Linked DNA regions of Homo sapiens: all the other regions are linked to region 1. Evidence: promoter capture Hi-C in human tissues and cell types (Jung and others, 2019). All regions are on one chromosome and are shown on one strand. Each heading gives the region's core, a stretch centred on a gene start or on the middle of the fragment in contact. The rest is flanking DNA. Distances are from core to core; before and after follow the strand shown.

What was found. Contacts are between HindIII fragments. The study calls those that stand out against the background at their distance.
Region 2: a fragment that was not itself captured here is called in contact with the fragment with the promoter of BIRC5 in region 1 in 2 of the 25 tissues and cell types used here (dorsolateral prefrontal cortex and spleen).
Region 3: a fragment that was not itself captured here is called in contact with the fragment with the promoter of BIRC5 in region 1 in 1 of the 25 tissues and cell types used here (dorsolateral prefrontal cortex).

The regions. Positions count from the first base shown.
Region 1 is chr17:78,211,768-78,216,933 of GRCh38, forward strand. It overlaps BIRC5 (baculoviral IAP repeat containing 5), which reads left to right and starts at 2,486. Exons shown (of 4, transcript NM_001168.3): 1 at 2,486-2,660; 2 at 2,913-3,022; 3 at 4,897-5,014. The coding sequence starts at 2,550. RefSeq lists a silencer at 131-334 and an enhancer at 2,231-3,132. The HindIII fragment of the contact is 20,243 bases long and covers 1-5,166 here.
Region 2 is chr17:78,705,064-78,710,229 of GRCh38, forward strand. It overlaps CYTH1 (cytohesin 1), which reads right to left. Exons shown (of 14, transcript NM_004762.6): 2 at 4,587-4,669; 3 at 3,134-3,198. Among named protein-coding and RNA genes, the nearest start is that of CYTH1, 75 kb to the right of the region's middle. The HindIII fragment of the contact is 3,609 bases long and covers 744-4,352 here.
Region 3 is chr17:77,753,264-77,758,429 of GRCh38, forward strand. No RefSeq gene overlaps it. Among named protein-coding and RNA genes, the nearest start is that of LINC01987, 27 kb to the left of the region's middle. The HindIII fragment of the contact is 7,345 bases long and covers 1-5,166 here.

The sequences.
Region 1 (5,166 bases), core at 1,236-3,735:
GGGCTGCAGCTGCTGCTCGGGCTCGGGAGGATGCTGGGGGCCCGGTGCCCATGAGCTTTTGAAGCTCCTGGAACTCGGTTTTGAGGGTGTTCAGGTCCAGGTGGACACCTGGGCTGTCCTTGTCCATGCATTTGATGACATTGTGTGCAGAAGTGAAAAGGAGTTAGGCCGGGCATGCTGGCTTATGCCTGTAATCCCAGCACTTTGGGAGGCTGAGGCGGGTGGATCACGAGGTCAGGAGTTCAATACCAGCCTGGCCAAGATGGTGAAACCCCGTCTCTACTAAAAATACAAAAAAATTAGCCGGGCATGGTGGCGGGCGCATGTAATCCCAGCTACTGGGGGGGCTGAGGCAGAGAATTGCTGGAACCCAGGAGATGGAGGTTGCAGTGAGCCAAGATTGTGCCACTGCACTGCACTCCAGCCTGGCGACAGAGCAAGACTCTGTCTCAAAAAAAAAAAAAAAAAGTGAAAAGGAGTTGTTCCTTTCCTCCCTCCTGAGGGCAGGCAACTGCTGCGGTTGCCAGTGGAGGTGGTGCGTCCTTGGTCTGTGCCTGGGGGCCACCCCAGCAGAGGCCATGGTGGTGCCAGGGCCCGGTTAGCGAGCCAATCAGCAGGACCCAGGGGCGACCTGCCAAAGTCAACTGGATTTGATAACTGCAGCGAAGTTAAGTTTCCTGATTTTGATGATTGTGTTGTGGTTGTGTAAGAGAATGAAGTATTTCGGGGTAGTATGGTAATGCCTTCAACTTACAAACGGTTCAGGTAAACCACCCATATACATACATATACATGCATGTGATATATACACATACAGGGATGTGTGTGTGTTCACATATATGAGGGGAGAGAGACTAGGGGAGAGAAAGTAGGTTGGGGAGAGGGAGAGAGAAAGGAAAACAGGAGACAGAGAGAGAGCGGGGAGTAGAGAGAGGGAAGGGGTAAGAGAGGGAGAGGAGGAGAGAAAGGGAGGAAGAAGCAGAGAGTGAATGTTAAAGGAAACAGGCAAAACATAAACAGAAAATCTGGGTGAAGGGTATATGAGTATTCTTTGTACTATTCTTGCAATTATCTTTTATTTAAATTGACATCGGGCCGGGCGCAGTGGCTCACATCTGTAATCCCAGCACTTTGGGAGGCCGAGGCAGGCAGATCACTTGAGGTCAGGAGTTTGAGACCAGCCTGGCAAACATGGTGAAACCCCATCTCTACTAAAAATACAAAAATTAGCCTGGTGTGGTGGTGCATGCCTTTAATCTCAGCTACTCGGGAGGCTGAGGCAGGAGAATCGCTTGAACCCGTGGCGGGGAGGAGGTTGCAGTGAGCTGAGATCATGCCACTGCACTCCAGCCTGGGCGATAGAGCGAGACTCAGTTTCAAATAAATAAATAAACATCAAAATAAAAAGTTACTGTATTAAAGAATGGGGGCGGGGTGGGAGGGGTGGGGAGAGGTTGCAAAAATAAATAAATAAATAAATAAACCCCAAAATGAAAAAGACAGTGGAGGCACCAGGCCTGCGTGGGGCTGGAGGGCTAATAAGGCCAGGCCTCTTATCTCTGGCCATAGAACCAGAGAAGTGAGTGGATGTGATGCCCAGCTCCAGAAGTGACTCCAGAACACCCTGTTCCAAAGCAGAGGACACACTGATTTTTTTTTTAATAGGCTGCAGGACTTACTGTTGGTGGGACGCCCTGCTTTGCGAAGGGAAAGGAGGAGTTTGCCCTGAGCACAGGCCCCCACCCTCCACTGGGCTTTCCCCAGCTCCCTTGTCTTCTTATCACGGTAGTGGCCCAGTCCCTGGCCCCTGACTCCAGAAGGTGGCCCTCCTGGAAACCCAGGTCGTGCAGTCAACGATGTACTCGCCGGGACAGCGATGTCTGCTGCACTCCATCCCTCCCCTGTTCATTTGTCCTTCATGCCCGTCTGGAGTAGATGCTTTTTGCAGAGGTGGCACCCTGTAAAGCTCTCCTGTCTGACTTTTTTTTTTTTTTTAGACTGAGTTTTGCTCTTGTTGCCTAGGCTGGAGTGCAATGGCACAATCTCAGCTCACTGCACCCTCTGCCTCCCGGGTTCAAGCGATTCTCCTGCCTCAGCCTCCCGAGTAGTTGGGATTACAGGCATGCACCACCACGCCCAGCTAATTTTTGTATTTTTAGTAGAGACAAGGTTTCACCGTGATGGCCAGGCTGGTCTTGAACTCCAGGACTCAAGTGATGCTCCTGCCTAGGCCTCTCAAAGTGTTGGGATTACAGGCGTGAGCCACTGCACCCGGCCTGCACGCGTTCTTTGAAAGCAGTCGAGGGGGCGCTAGGTGTGGGCAGGGACGAGCTGGCGCGGCGTCGCTGGGTGCACCGCGACCACGGGCAGAGCCACGCGGCGGGAGGACTACAACTCCCGGCACACCCCGCGCCGCCCCGCCTCTACTCCCAGAAGGCCGCGGGGGGTGGACCGCCTAAGAGGGCGTGCGCTCCCGACATGCCCCGCGGCGCGCCATTAACCGCCAGATTTGAATCGCGGGACCCGTTGGCAGAGGTGGCGGCGGCGGCATGGGTGCCCCGACGTTGCCCCCTGCCTGGCAGCCCTTTCTCAAGGACCACCGCATCTCTACATTCAAGAACTGGCCCTTCTTGGAGGGCTGCGCCTGCACCCCGGAGCGGGTGAGACTGCCCGGCCTCCTGGGGTCCCCCACGCCCGCCTTGCCCTGTCCCTAGCGAGGCCACTGTGACTGGGCCTCGGGGGTACAAGCCGCCCTCCCCTCCCCGTCCTGTCCCCAGCGAGGCCACTGTGGCTGGGCCCCTTGGGTCCAGGCCGGCCTCCCCTCCCTGCTTTGTCCCCATCGAGGCCTTTGTGGCTGGGCCTCGGGGTTCCGGGCTGCCACGTCCACTCACGAGCTGTGCTGTCCCTTGCAGATGGCCGAGGCTGGCTTCATCCACTGCCCCACTGAGAACGAGCCAGACTTGGCCCAGTGTTTCTTCTGCTTCAAGGAGCTGGAAGGCTGGGAGCCAGATGACGACCCCATGTAAGTCTTCTCTGGCCAGCCTCGATGGGCTTTGTTTTGAACTGAGTTGTCAAAAGATTTGAGTTGCAAAGACACTTAGTATGGGAGGGTTGCTTTCCACCCTCATTGCTTCTTAAACAGCTGTTGTGAACGGATACCTCTCTATATGCTGGTGCCTTGGTGATGCTTACAACCTAATTAAATCTCATTTGACCAAAATGCCTTGGGGTGGACGTAAGATGCCTGATGCCTTTCATGTTCAACAGAATACATCAGCAGACCCTGTTGTTGTGAACTCCCAGGAACGTCCAAGTGCTTTTTTTGAGATTTTTTAAAAAACAGTTTAATTGAAATATAACCTACACAGCACAAAAATTACCCTTTGAAAGTGTGCACTTCACACTTTCGGAGGCTGAGGCGGGCGGATCACCTGAGGTCAGGAGTTCAAGACCTGCCTGGCCAACTTGGCGAAACCCCGTCTCTACTAAAAATACAAAAATTAGCCGGGCATGGTAGCGCACGCCCGTAATCCCAGCTACTCGGGAGGCTAAGGCAGGAGAATCGCTTGAACCTGGGAGGCGGAGGTTGCAGTGAGCCGAGATTGTGCCAATGCACTCCAGCCTCGGCGACAGAGCGAGACTCCGTCATAAAAATAAAAAATTGAAAAAAAAAAAAGAAAGAAAGCATATACTTCAGTGTTGTTCTGGATTTTTTTCTTCAAGATGCCTAGTTAATGACAATGAAATTCTGTACTCGGATGGTATCTGTCTTTCCACACTGTAATGCCATATTCTTTTCTCACCTTTTTTTCTGTCGGATTCAGTTGCTTCCACAGCTTTAATTTTTTTCCCCTGGAGAATCACCCCAGTTGTTTTTCTTTTTGGCCAGAAGAGAGTAGCTGTTTTTTTTCTTAGTATGTTTGCTATGGTGGTTATACTGCATCCCCGTAATCACTGGGAAAAGATCAGTGGTATTCTTCTTGAAAATGAATAAGTGTTATGATATTTTCAGATTAGAGTTACAACTGGCTGTCTTTTTGGACTTTGTGTGGCCATGTTTTCATTGTAATGCAGTTCTGGTAACGGTGATAGTCAGTTATACAGGGAGACTCCCCTAGCAGAAAATGAGAGTGTGAGCTAGGGGGTCCCTTGGGGAACCCGGGGCAATAATGCCCTTCTCTGCCCTTAATCCTTACAGTGGGCCGGGCACGGTGGCTTACGCCTGTAATACCAGCACTTTGGGAGGCCGAGGCGGGCGGATCACGAGGTCAGGAGATCGAGACCATCTTGGCTAATACGGTGAAACCCCGTCTCCACTAAAAATACAAAAAATTAGCCGGGCGTGGTGGTGGGCGCCTGTAGTCCCAGCTACTCGGGAGGCTGAGGCAGGAGAATGGCGTGAACCCAGGAGGCGGAGCTTGCAGTGAGCCGAGATTGCACCACTGCACTCCAGCCTGGGCGACAGAATGAGACTCCGTCTCAAAAAAAAAAAAAAAAGAAAAAAATCTTTACAGTGGATTACATAACAATTCCAGTGAAATGAAATTACTTCAAACAGTTCCTTGAGAATGTTGGAGGGATTTGACATGTAATTCCTTTGGACATATACCATGTAACACTTTTCCAACTAATTGCTAAGGAAGTCCAGATAAAATAGATACATTAGCCACACAGATGTGGGGGGAGATGTCCACAGGGAGAGAGAAGGTGCTAAGAGGTGCCATATGGGAATGTGGCTTGGGCAAAGCACTGATGCCATCAACTTCAGACTTGACGTCTTACTCCTGAGGCAGAGCAGGGTGTGCCTGTGGAGGGCGTGGGGAGGTGGCCCGTGGGGAGTGGACTGCCGCTTTAATCCCTTCAGCTGCCTTTCCGCTGTTGTTTTGATTTTTCTAGAGAGGAACATAAAAAGCATTCGTCCGGTTGCGCTTTCCTTTCTGTCAAGAAGCAGTTTGAAGAATTAACCCTTGGTGAATTTTTGAAACTGGACAGAGAAAGAGCCAAGAACAAAATTGTATGTATTGGGAATAAGAACTGCTCAAACCCTGTTCAATGTCTTTAGCACTAAACTACCTAGTCCCTCAAAGGGACTCTGTGTTTTCCTCAGGAAGCATTTTTTTTTTTTTTCTGAGATAGAGTTTCACTCTTGTTGCCCAGGCTGGAGTG
Region 2 (5,166 bases), core at 1,298-3,797, 490 kb after region 1:
AAACAAATACCACAAGGAAGGCCTGTTTCATGGTTTCCAGTGTAAGTGGTGAGGCAGCGTCAGAGGTGCCCACAGAAGCAAGGGGTGAAACTCCTGGGAATGCTCAGCTTCCTGGGCCTCAGTCCAGTCCTCACCAAAGGCTTTCCTGCAGCCACCAGAACGCACACTCCCAGATATCCGCCAGTCACAGTCTGTGCCACATGACTGCCTGGGACACACACCAGAGATGGCTCCCTAATTTCATTAGCTAGCCAGCTCACTTCTCTATCTGCCCCACTTGGAGCCCCTATAGCTCTAGGCCTTAGGCAGCTACTTCTCTAAGTGGCTTTCCCCAGCCTACACAGGTCTGACACCCCAGTTAAGGTGTCCAAAGGAAAACAGCTTACTGCTACTGGATCGCCTTAGTTAACTGACGCGTATACATTTCAGAAAGTGAAATCCTGTACTACATGAGTATATTATTTCTGCTTGATTAAATAGTATTTAGGATCATTCCTACAAAATGCATCAGATCGTCGATGAGAAACATGAATTCTCTCCTATAAGAAAGTCCGAGCAAATGTAATGCCTGCTTGAGAAACAAATGCAGGGTGAGCCTGAGTACCCGTATGGATGGATCCTCAGGGATGTGCAGAATCACTTCCGTCTTGGCGCTTTCGATACCGGAAAACCATTTTAAGTTCCAGATTAAAAAATAATAATAACCTAAAGACTACTTCCTGACTCACAACTTCAGATGCAGTTCATGAGTTACAAGTCTTCCCAAATTCACTGGCTGAGTACTTTGGATGCACTCACGTTCCTGGTGTCTGCGTTTCCTTGCTGTTCTATGGTAACTGACAGAGAATTAATCAAGAGAAAAACAAAGGGCACACTGAATTCTGAATATGTGTGTGCAGACACCGGAATATACAGAAAGGAAACGTACCAAAATATGAATCCTGATTATCTCTGGGATAAGTGTTTATGAGAAATTTGTTTTTTATACTTTTCTGTATTTTACCAATTTTCTGCAGTAAAGGTGTATTACCTTTATAGTCAGAAAAAAGCCATTTTTTTTTACATTTTTAAGATCGAGGTAAAATTTACATTTAACAAAATGCACACACCTTAAGTGCACAGTTCAATTTGTTTTGATGAGTGCATATACCCTTGAAGCACCACTCAGATTAATACAGAATATTCCTGCCATCCCTGTAAGTTCCCTATGGCCCTTCCTAGTCAACCCCACCCCACCCCGCCCCAGCAACCACCTCGGAGGCAGCACTGTCATGATTTCGGCTAGCACACTAGCACAGCTTAGTTTGCATGTTCTAGATGCTCACGCATGGAAGCACACGGTGCCCACAGTTTCTTTCACTCATCACAATGTTCGTGAGATTCATCCGTGCTGCTGCACGCTAGCAGTTCATTCCTTCACACTGCTGAGTAATAGTCTATTACCTCGACCTGTTTATCCAGTCACCTGCTGGCAGCCATTCAGGGTATTTCCAGCTTTTGGTTATTTTATATAAGAATGCTATAGATATTCTTGTACAAGTCTTTGTATGGACATGTTTTCATTTCTCTTAAGTAACTAGGAGTTGAATTGCTGATGAAACTGCCAAACTTCTTTCCCAAATGGTTATATTATTTTATTCTCACTAGCACTTGCCAACATGAGGTACCATCAGTCTTTTTAATTCTAGCCATCATAGGGGATGTGAAGTACCGTTTCATGGTGGTTTTAAATTACATCCCCTACAACTAATGATGTTAAGCATTTTTCATGTGTCTACTACACATATGGCTTCTTTTGTAAAGTGTCCAAGTTTTTTGCCCATTTTCTTATTTGGGCTGCCTTTCTATCATATATTCTAGATACAAGTCCTTTTTCAGATATATTTGTTACAAATATTTACTTCTAATCTGTTGCCTGTTCATTTCTTTTAATAGTTTTTAATAGTTTTATCTTTTACAAAAGCGGAAGTTTTAAATTTTTATGAAGTCCAACGTATCCGTTTCATTTAAGCTACGAGTGTTTAAAATGGAAAGAGGGGAAACTAATCCAAAATACCAAATGGACAATACAGAGACTGGCCGTGGTGAGCTGGCTGCCTTCTGTGGAGGACTCAGCCTCACTATACCCTGAAGGCACTGCCCACAGGAGTCTAAAACAACAAATCAAACAGTCCTACGAAGCCAGACAGGAAGACTTAGGCTTAGAAAAATACAGACATGTAGTGAATTGGAAACAGCTCATTTATTGCATTAAGCAGTCAGAAAACGGTCTGGGAACCCCATTCAAAACTAAACTCTCAAAGTCACTAACATTTCATGAAAATAAAAGGAAAAAAAAAAGCAGAGTCCTTGTCCTTTTATACTATCATCGCATTTCTACATTTTCTTCCCTTAAGCATTAGGAAGGTGCAAATAAGCTCACGATTATCCTCAGACATGACTGGACACTCCAGCCCTTTGAAATCGTATCAGCAGCATTCATTAAGCTTTTCCTTTACACAAAGGAAAAACAGAAACTTTAAAATGCACACCGACAGTGGACAACAGAGGGGAGTAATTCACATAAAAATTTAGGAGCAGTTTAAGGCTTTCTGGGACCTTTGAAGTTCTCCAGTTCAATTTTTTTTTTTTTTTTTGAGACGGAGTCTCGCTCTGTCACCAGGCTGGAGTGCAGTGGCGCGATCTCAGCTCACTGCAACCTCCACCTCCCGGGTTCAAGCAATTCTCCTGCCTCAGCCTCCCGAGTAGCTGGGACTACAGGTGTGCACCACCACACCCGTCTAATTTTTGTATTTTGAGTAGAGACAGGGTTTCACCATGTTGGCCAGGATGGTCTCGATCTCTTGACCTCGTGATCCACCTGCCTCGGCCTCCCAAAGTGCTGGGATTACAGCCGTGAGCCACCGCGCCCGGCCTCCAGTTCAATTTTTTAAACACTGGAAGAAGCTCCTATGTTCAGGAGGCCTTGCGGTGAAGGATGGAAGGCAGACATTATGGGTGTGTATGTGCTTGCTAGAATTAGAAAGACACAAAGCTGACTTTTTCCTTCAATGTGCCACGTAAGCATAATTAAGGCCTGGGTGCTTTAAGGAATTACAACCACAGAAGCCACCTGGCAGCAGGGCAGACTCACCTTTCCTCTGTGGATCCCAGGTTTTCAATTTCATTAGCTACTTCTGCTATCTCATCCTTCAGCCTCTATAAAACAGACAGTCCAGAGTCAGCAGGAAAGGCAGATGCAGATCAAATTAAAACTTCTAAAATCTCACATAACTCCCTCCAACCAAAAACAAAATAAAGCAAAATGAAACAAAATATGACAAAAATGCAAAAAGTAAATTAGGAAAATTCATGTTTCAGAAATATTTATTGAGTGCCTACCAAACAGTAAGCATTCCAGAAAACACCAAGGTAGAAAAGAATACAGCCTCTGACCTCAAGGAGTTTACGGTCTAGGAAAGTTTATAAGCATATATGCTGTGTGAAAAACAAAACCTGGCTGCCTCATCACAATCTTTCAGAACAAGTCTGCAGCTTACTAAACACAAGCATGCCAGAAAATTCAGAGGACAAAGTCTCCTACCCAAAGCCCAGGCTGCAGAGCCTGCAGTAGCTGTGCCAGGGCAACAATGCCACCAAGCGGCTGGCAAAGGGAATGTCTGATCAAATCGGCTGTGCATCCGCACCCACCCTCCTCATTCCAGCACACTGTTGGTCAGAATGGATGGGCTCTCACGGGGAAGTGGGGCTTAAGTGGAGAGCTGCTTAGCTTTCTCACGATCTACCAGTGAAGCAGAAATCAAAGGATCAGGGAGAACTATCAAAATATACTTAAATCAACTCCAGAGAAAGTCAAGTCTTTCCTCATTTTGCTACTTTGGGCAACAGGATTCCCTCCTTAACCCCACTCCTAATGTCTTGTGAAGAATTCTGAAAGAATAACATTTGCTGTCTTAGGGCGAAAATAATCCAACTATTGGCTTCTAGACTTATTTCCTACAAGCTTGATAGTTACAAAAAGGAACTTGGAAAAATTGTAATTGTAAAATTGCTATCACTAAGTACATCTATAGGGACCAGAAATTATGCTGTCTTTCATGCTAAGTCCTTCCAACTGTGTAGCAGGTGTTTTCATGATCTGACAGATGAAGAAACTGAAGTTCAAGGAACCGGAACTCTCTTGTCTCAAATCATTCAGCCAGTAAGCGGCAGAGCCAGAGCCAGGGCGTGGGCCGAGCTTCGCCTGAAGCCCACATTCTCATTGCCTCTCCTCATCCACTCTGCTCCGCAAGGGCAAACACAGCAGAGAGGACTACTCAGGAGACAGGAGTCTTGCAGGCTATCTCCAGCTCCGACAACCGACCAACTGGGTGAACCTGGACAAGCCACTCAACCTCTCTGACACTGCATCTCCTCAGCTGTAGAGGAAAGGTGACTGATTATCAACACCTACGCTTTGTGCAGAGCTGTAGTGAGGGCAGGTCAAAAGTGTCTTGAGGAGACACTCTGCAAAGGACACCCTTTCATACAAATGGAACTGTCACTGTGGTTCTTACGTTGGTGAAACCACCATGCCACTCTCCTACCTGAATGTCAGCCAGCAGCTCCTGTTTTCTCCGTCGGATGTTCTCCAGTTCTTGACGCTCCTCTGCTGTCAGGTCACTGGGAACTACAAAAATGGAGGGCAATGTTACAAGAAAGCTTTTATCTCGCCAAAAATCAAGGAAGATCCAGAGGCCACAAAAGGAGAAAGATATCAAGAAAGAAACTAGAAGTCAGTTTCAGAAATGACTGAGTGATAGAAATAGTTATGGCTCCAATTCTTATCAGATTTCTAAGAAAGGAAGGCCCTTAAATCACACAGAAAAGCTCTGAGAAACTCTTGGAAGGAAAAACGAGAGAGAAGAGATTACTGAAGGTTAAATTAGGTTGGCTATGAATGAAAAAGGATGAATATTAGCTGAGCGCCTGGCCATTTTCATCCCTTCCAGCTGGGAGACTTCAGGCTGACATTTAATTAATCTCTCTAGGCCTCAGCTCCCTCATGGTCAAAAACAGAGTCTCCGAGATGGAAAGATGTCCATGACCCCCTGAGGTGGGGAGGGGAGGCAAGAGGCAAAGCAACGTGTACGAACAATTTTGTGCCATCTCTGGGAGGGGTTTGGA
Region 3 (5,166 bases), core at 1,816-4,315, 460 kb before region 1:
GAGAGACATTATCTCATTCTGTCACCCAGGCTGGAGTGCAGTGGTGCAATCACAGCTCACTGCTGTCTCTGTCTCCTGGACTCAGTCGATCCTCCCGCCTCAGCCTCTCGAGTAGCTGGGATGACAGGCGTGTAATTCCCACGCGTGTAATTCCCATGCCTGTAATACCTAGCTAATTTTGTTTATTTTTTGTAGAGACAAGAGCTCACTATGTTGCCCTGGCTGGTCTCGAACTCCTGGGCTCAAGTGATCTTCCTGTCCCACCCTCCCAAAGTGCTGGAATTAGAGGCATGAGCCACCATGGCTTGCCTGGGAAGCTCTTAATTTTGGGTCATAGGTGGTCTTTCCTGACACTCAATACTATGGTGCAGATGGAAAGAGCCATAGGAGATCCCACGGGCTCCAGAATCCCTCTCTCTCGTACACCCCATTGAGGAGGTGTGTGGGGGAGGGGCTAGAGAACCCTTTTGTTCAGTGACCCAGGTGATTCGGATGTGTAAGCAGGTGAGGAGATGCCTCCCTCCACTAGCAGCATCCTAACAATAAAGCAAGTCCTTGATAGCACATCACAGAAGCCTGGGGCGCTTCAGTAGGGGCTCTCTCTGAGACACGCAAACCCACCGTGTTTAGATCCCCCGGATCTTTAGCTTCTCTCCAGCTGAAGGCTCTGATGCTCACTGGCCCCAAGCTTCCCACGAAGGCAGACTGCGGTGCCCAGTTCACCCCACCTCTCTCCAGGTCCTGCCTCCCACCCCCAGCCCTGAAGCCATTAGCTCTGGCCTGGTGCCTGCAGACCCTGGCTCATGGAGAGGCAGCATGGTGCAGTGGCTAGGGGCGTGTGTGTGAGATCCACACTCGAGCTGTCTTATAAAGTAGCCGCCAGCCATTTGAGTTACTTTATAACTCGAATCCAAATTCATCAATTAAAAACCCAGCGCCTCAGTCTCACTAGTGAGAAGGAGAAATAAGGGCAGCCCTGGCCTCTGGAAGCTGGCCTGGGCCTCACTCGGGAGTCCTGTTCTCCCGTTCACTCCCTACTCAGACAAGGCCGCTCTGAAACCACAATGAAATGAGACAGAGCGAGGATGCACGTGATTTTGCCCTTGCCCTTTGAAGGCATTGAATCTGGAGTGAGCTCCTGACTCCTCAGACCCTCCCCTAAGTCAGCCATAGACCACATCCTAGAATAAGTCCTCTCTGACACCCCCTCCCTGTGACACCCTGTAGTTCCACATGGACGTGTTCTCCCTCACTGCAGCCAATAATAACTCAGCTTGTTCAACCGCAAGTGCATTCCTGGTGGTCTTTGACTGGGACGACATTGACTAGCTACACTTCAAGTGCTCAGTGGTCACATGTGGCCAGGGGCTACCACGCTGGACAGCATACCCAGAACCATTCTGCCACTGTAGAAAGTTCTGCTGAGTAGCACTGGTCTACATGATCTGACTCCAAATCTTGACTGCAATTAAGCAGCCGTGTGAACAAGGACACCTCCTGTAACCATTCTGAGCTTTGGTTTCCTCGTCTGTAAGATGGGAGTTGTCCTGAGGATTAAATGAGGCAACACATGTTAAGCACCTAACCTTACGCCTACTGTGGTAGTCTTTAAATATGTTCTTACATTCTTTGATTCTCCTCCCTTTAAGAGGTGGAATTTAATTTTTCTCTTCTTGAAGGTGGGCTGAACTTAGTGACTCCCTTCTAATGAATGAAATATTGCAGACATAACAACGCCACTTGCAAAACCAGGTCATAAAAGGCTGGGTGGCTTCTTCCTTTTGTTCTTCTTCACATGCTCAGGGAAAGTCGGCTGCCATGTTGTGAGGACACTCAAGCAGCCCTATGGGGAGGGCCACATGGCGATGAACAAAGGCCCCCAACCGACGGCAAAGTGAGGGAGCCACTGTAGATGTGGATTCTTCTGCCCCTGTTCAACCTGTAGAGGCAGTGGCCCTGGCTGACAGCTGCACTGCAACCTCATGAAAGACTTTGAGCCACAACCACCCAGTAAAGCCATGCTCAGATTCCCAAGACCTCAGAAACTTTGTGAGATAACCAACATTTCTTATTTTAAGCCACTAAGTTTTGGGGTAATTTGTTACACAGCAATAGGTAACTAATACACATGGCATATGAGTGGCACTTAGTTTGTGTTAGCCATGCTAGCCAATGGTCCGTGGAGCTGGCCTACAGGGAAAGAATCCAGATCAGCTCACATAGGCAGCGGGTCTGCCAAGTTGTTCTCCATATGGCAAATGGAGAACTGACCTCTGGTCTTTGATGTCAATCTGTGAGTGTGGTCAGCGGGGTCACTCCAGAGATGAGCCACTGGACTCAAAGCAACAGCCAGGAAATGAGTCGGGGATGACACATCGGGGTTCTGGCTGTCCATGGCCTAGGACAGCTCTCAGGTACAGCCTACCAGGGAGCACCTTGTGAGCCAGAGAGGGTCTTTCCAGCAGAACCTATGGGTCGCCTGGCATCCACACTGTAGCCCTGAGCCTGTAGCAGGCTGCCCAGGGACCCACGGGTGAATTTCCACTTTTCCAGGAGAGGAGCTATGAGGTTGGAAAGGCAGAGGGAAGCCCAGCATGCCCCGGCCTTGGCACCAGCCCTTCCTTAGCTCAGCCCTCCCCTGTCCCCACCAGAGCCACAGGCTGCTTCACCGAGGTGAACCCTTCCTGCTTCCTGGGAACACCACAGTGTCCCCCCAGGAACACACAATGTCCCTGGCACGAAGGACAGTCAGAGAGAGCATGCACCGCCCCACACCACTCAGAGACCCCCATCTCCAGAACCCCCTCCCTGCACAAATGGGCTAGAACCCCAGAGAGAAGAAGAGGGCAACCCAAAGCAAGAAGGCAGCCTGGGACCCCACGGCCCTTCAGCGTGTGACTCAGGGAACATGGTGCATTCATCCCAGAACTGAATGTGCACATCCCTGGTTCTCTCTCCACGTCCCACAGCCAGGGAAGGGAGGGTGACCCTGCCACAAGCACTTAACAAGTTAACCTGAAATGCCCCGTCCCTAGCTCCCCAGACCTCAGGGCCTCCAAAGGGAGTGAGGCAGGGACACCCAGAACCCTTGCAAGGACATTAATTGAATGTTGAACTCTGCACTCAAATGAAGAGGTATGTCACCCCCCACCCACCTTGAATGCACAGTCTAGAGCTCTCTACCATACTCTGCTGGGGCCCCTCCATCTGGTACCTAATGGCTATGAAGAACAGGGGACCCCCTCTTTTTTGAGTAACTGCAAGTAAGCCGTCTACACTGGGTTAACAATATGTATTTATGATACAAAATTGCCAGCGGCTTCTGCATTTTCACACGTGTTTGTTAATGAAAAGTAACCCGGGGGTCAGGTTATTATGTAAATATCCACTGTGGGTGAGGGGGTTGGAGGTGAAGCACCCCATAATGAGGTGCCTCCATCCATCTCTCAGGAGCGCTAATGAATATTGGATCTGGTCATTTGCCCGGCACTCAGGCCTCACTTTACCAAACAGAGGGACGGGAAGGACGTTTGAGCTCAAATGAACCACTTCTCCCTTCATTTCCGCGTGACCCCAGTGAATTTCAACCCTCCCACCTCCTCCCTCCCCATTCCACCATGCTCGGGTGTTCCCGAGCCCACAGAGGCGAGAGACAAGGGACATTGGCTGGAGAAGCTTCTGGCTGTTTATAGTTTGCAGGAATCACAAAAAAACCACCCACCCTGCCTTGCTGCCTCTGACTCAGAAACCATCAACCTGCGCCTCCCCCAGAAAATAAGATGAGTGAGGATAGAGTGGTATCCTGGAGTCCCACTCAGGGTGGGAGGCGTTAACCACGTGGTAGGGGACAGAGGTCCTGCAGTTGACCCAAGGAGGGGCAGCCAGCCTCTTGGCATCTGCAAACAGGAGTAGTGGACTGGACCAGGCTGCCAGGTGAGGCCAGGAGAGGCTGAGCAGCAAAGACCACCCTGTCAGGAAGGCAGACCAGCTGCACACACAGGGTTCCCAACTGCAGGCTGTAGGGAAGAGTCTACCTTGTATTTTTCCAGTGCCCAAGCTGAAGGCTCCAACCAATGCCATCAAAGGCAGGAGGCAGCTGGTCCCAGCAGGCTCAGTCTTCCTGACGGTGGAAGGTCCGCCTGCCCTCCCTCCCAGGGTCTGTGCAAAGCTCATTTAGGGCTCTGAGTAATGGAATGTTGCCACTGGGGTGTCTCTACAAACGAGATACTACATCTCCCAAGACTTCCCTGGGTAAATAAAAGCTAAATATAAATGATGTGACTGTGTCGCACTCCAGCTCTGCCTTTGACTAGAGGGAACATGCTGAAATGGTTGATTAAAAATAAATAAAATTAGGCTCTTCTAGTTCCTCCCAACATAAAGGCAGGGCTTCTCCCTCTGAGCCGCTGAGATAAAGCCGCCCAGCCTGTAGCAGGAGCTCCTGGGGTCCCGGCCATGCGTGGGTTATGGCTGGTTTTATGGCCGCTGTATGATTTACACCCACTTGCAGGCATGTAGCAAACAGATACATTTTTAAGCAGTAATTGTCATGTATATGGGCCCTTGAGTGTCTGGAGAAACGTCTCTCCAGAGGAAGACTGGTGTTCTGTCTCTCCCATCAAGAGCAGGATCGTGAAGAGCAGGTGACTGGGGATAAATTTCAGGGGCTCCCCCTGGGGACCAGGAAGTAGGGACATCAGTAAGCCCAGCCTGGCCTTCCTCTGCCCTTCTTGGAAATGCTGACAAACACCAACACTGGAAACTGCTACTGTCACCCCACTTCCCGCACGGCACCCTCCACAACAGGAAGACCCCCGCTGCAACATACTCCTTTCTCCCAGGCTCTGGGCTCGGGTGGGGAAGGACAAGGTCAGCACCTCACCTTTTCATGCTGCCCTCAGTGCTGGGGTTCCAACGCTCAGGTGGCTGGACCCACCAACAGGATGGAGGCAACCAAAGGAAGCAGCTTGGTCCTTTTTTTTTGAGATGGAGTTTCGTTCTTTTCGCCCAGGCTGGAGTACAATGGTGCAATCTCAGCTCACTGCAGCCTCCACCTCCTGGGTTCAAGCGATTCTCCTGCTTCAGCCTCCCAAGTAGCTGGGATTACAGGGGCCCACAACCACGCCCAGCTGATTTTTGTATTTTTAGTAGAGATGCGGTTTTGCC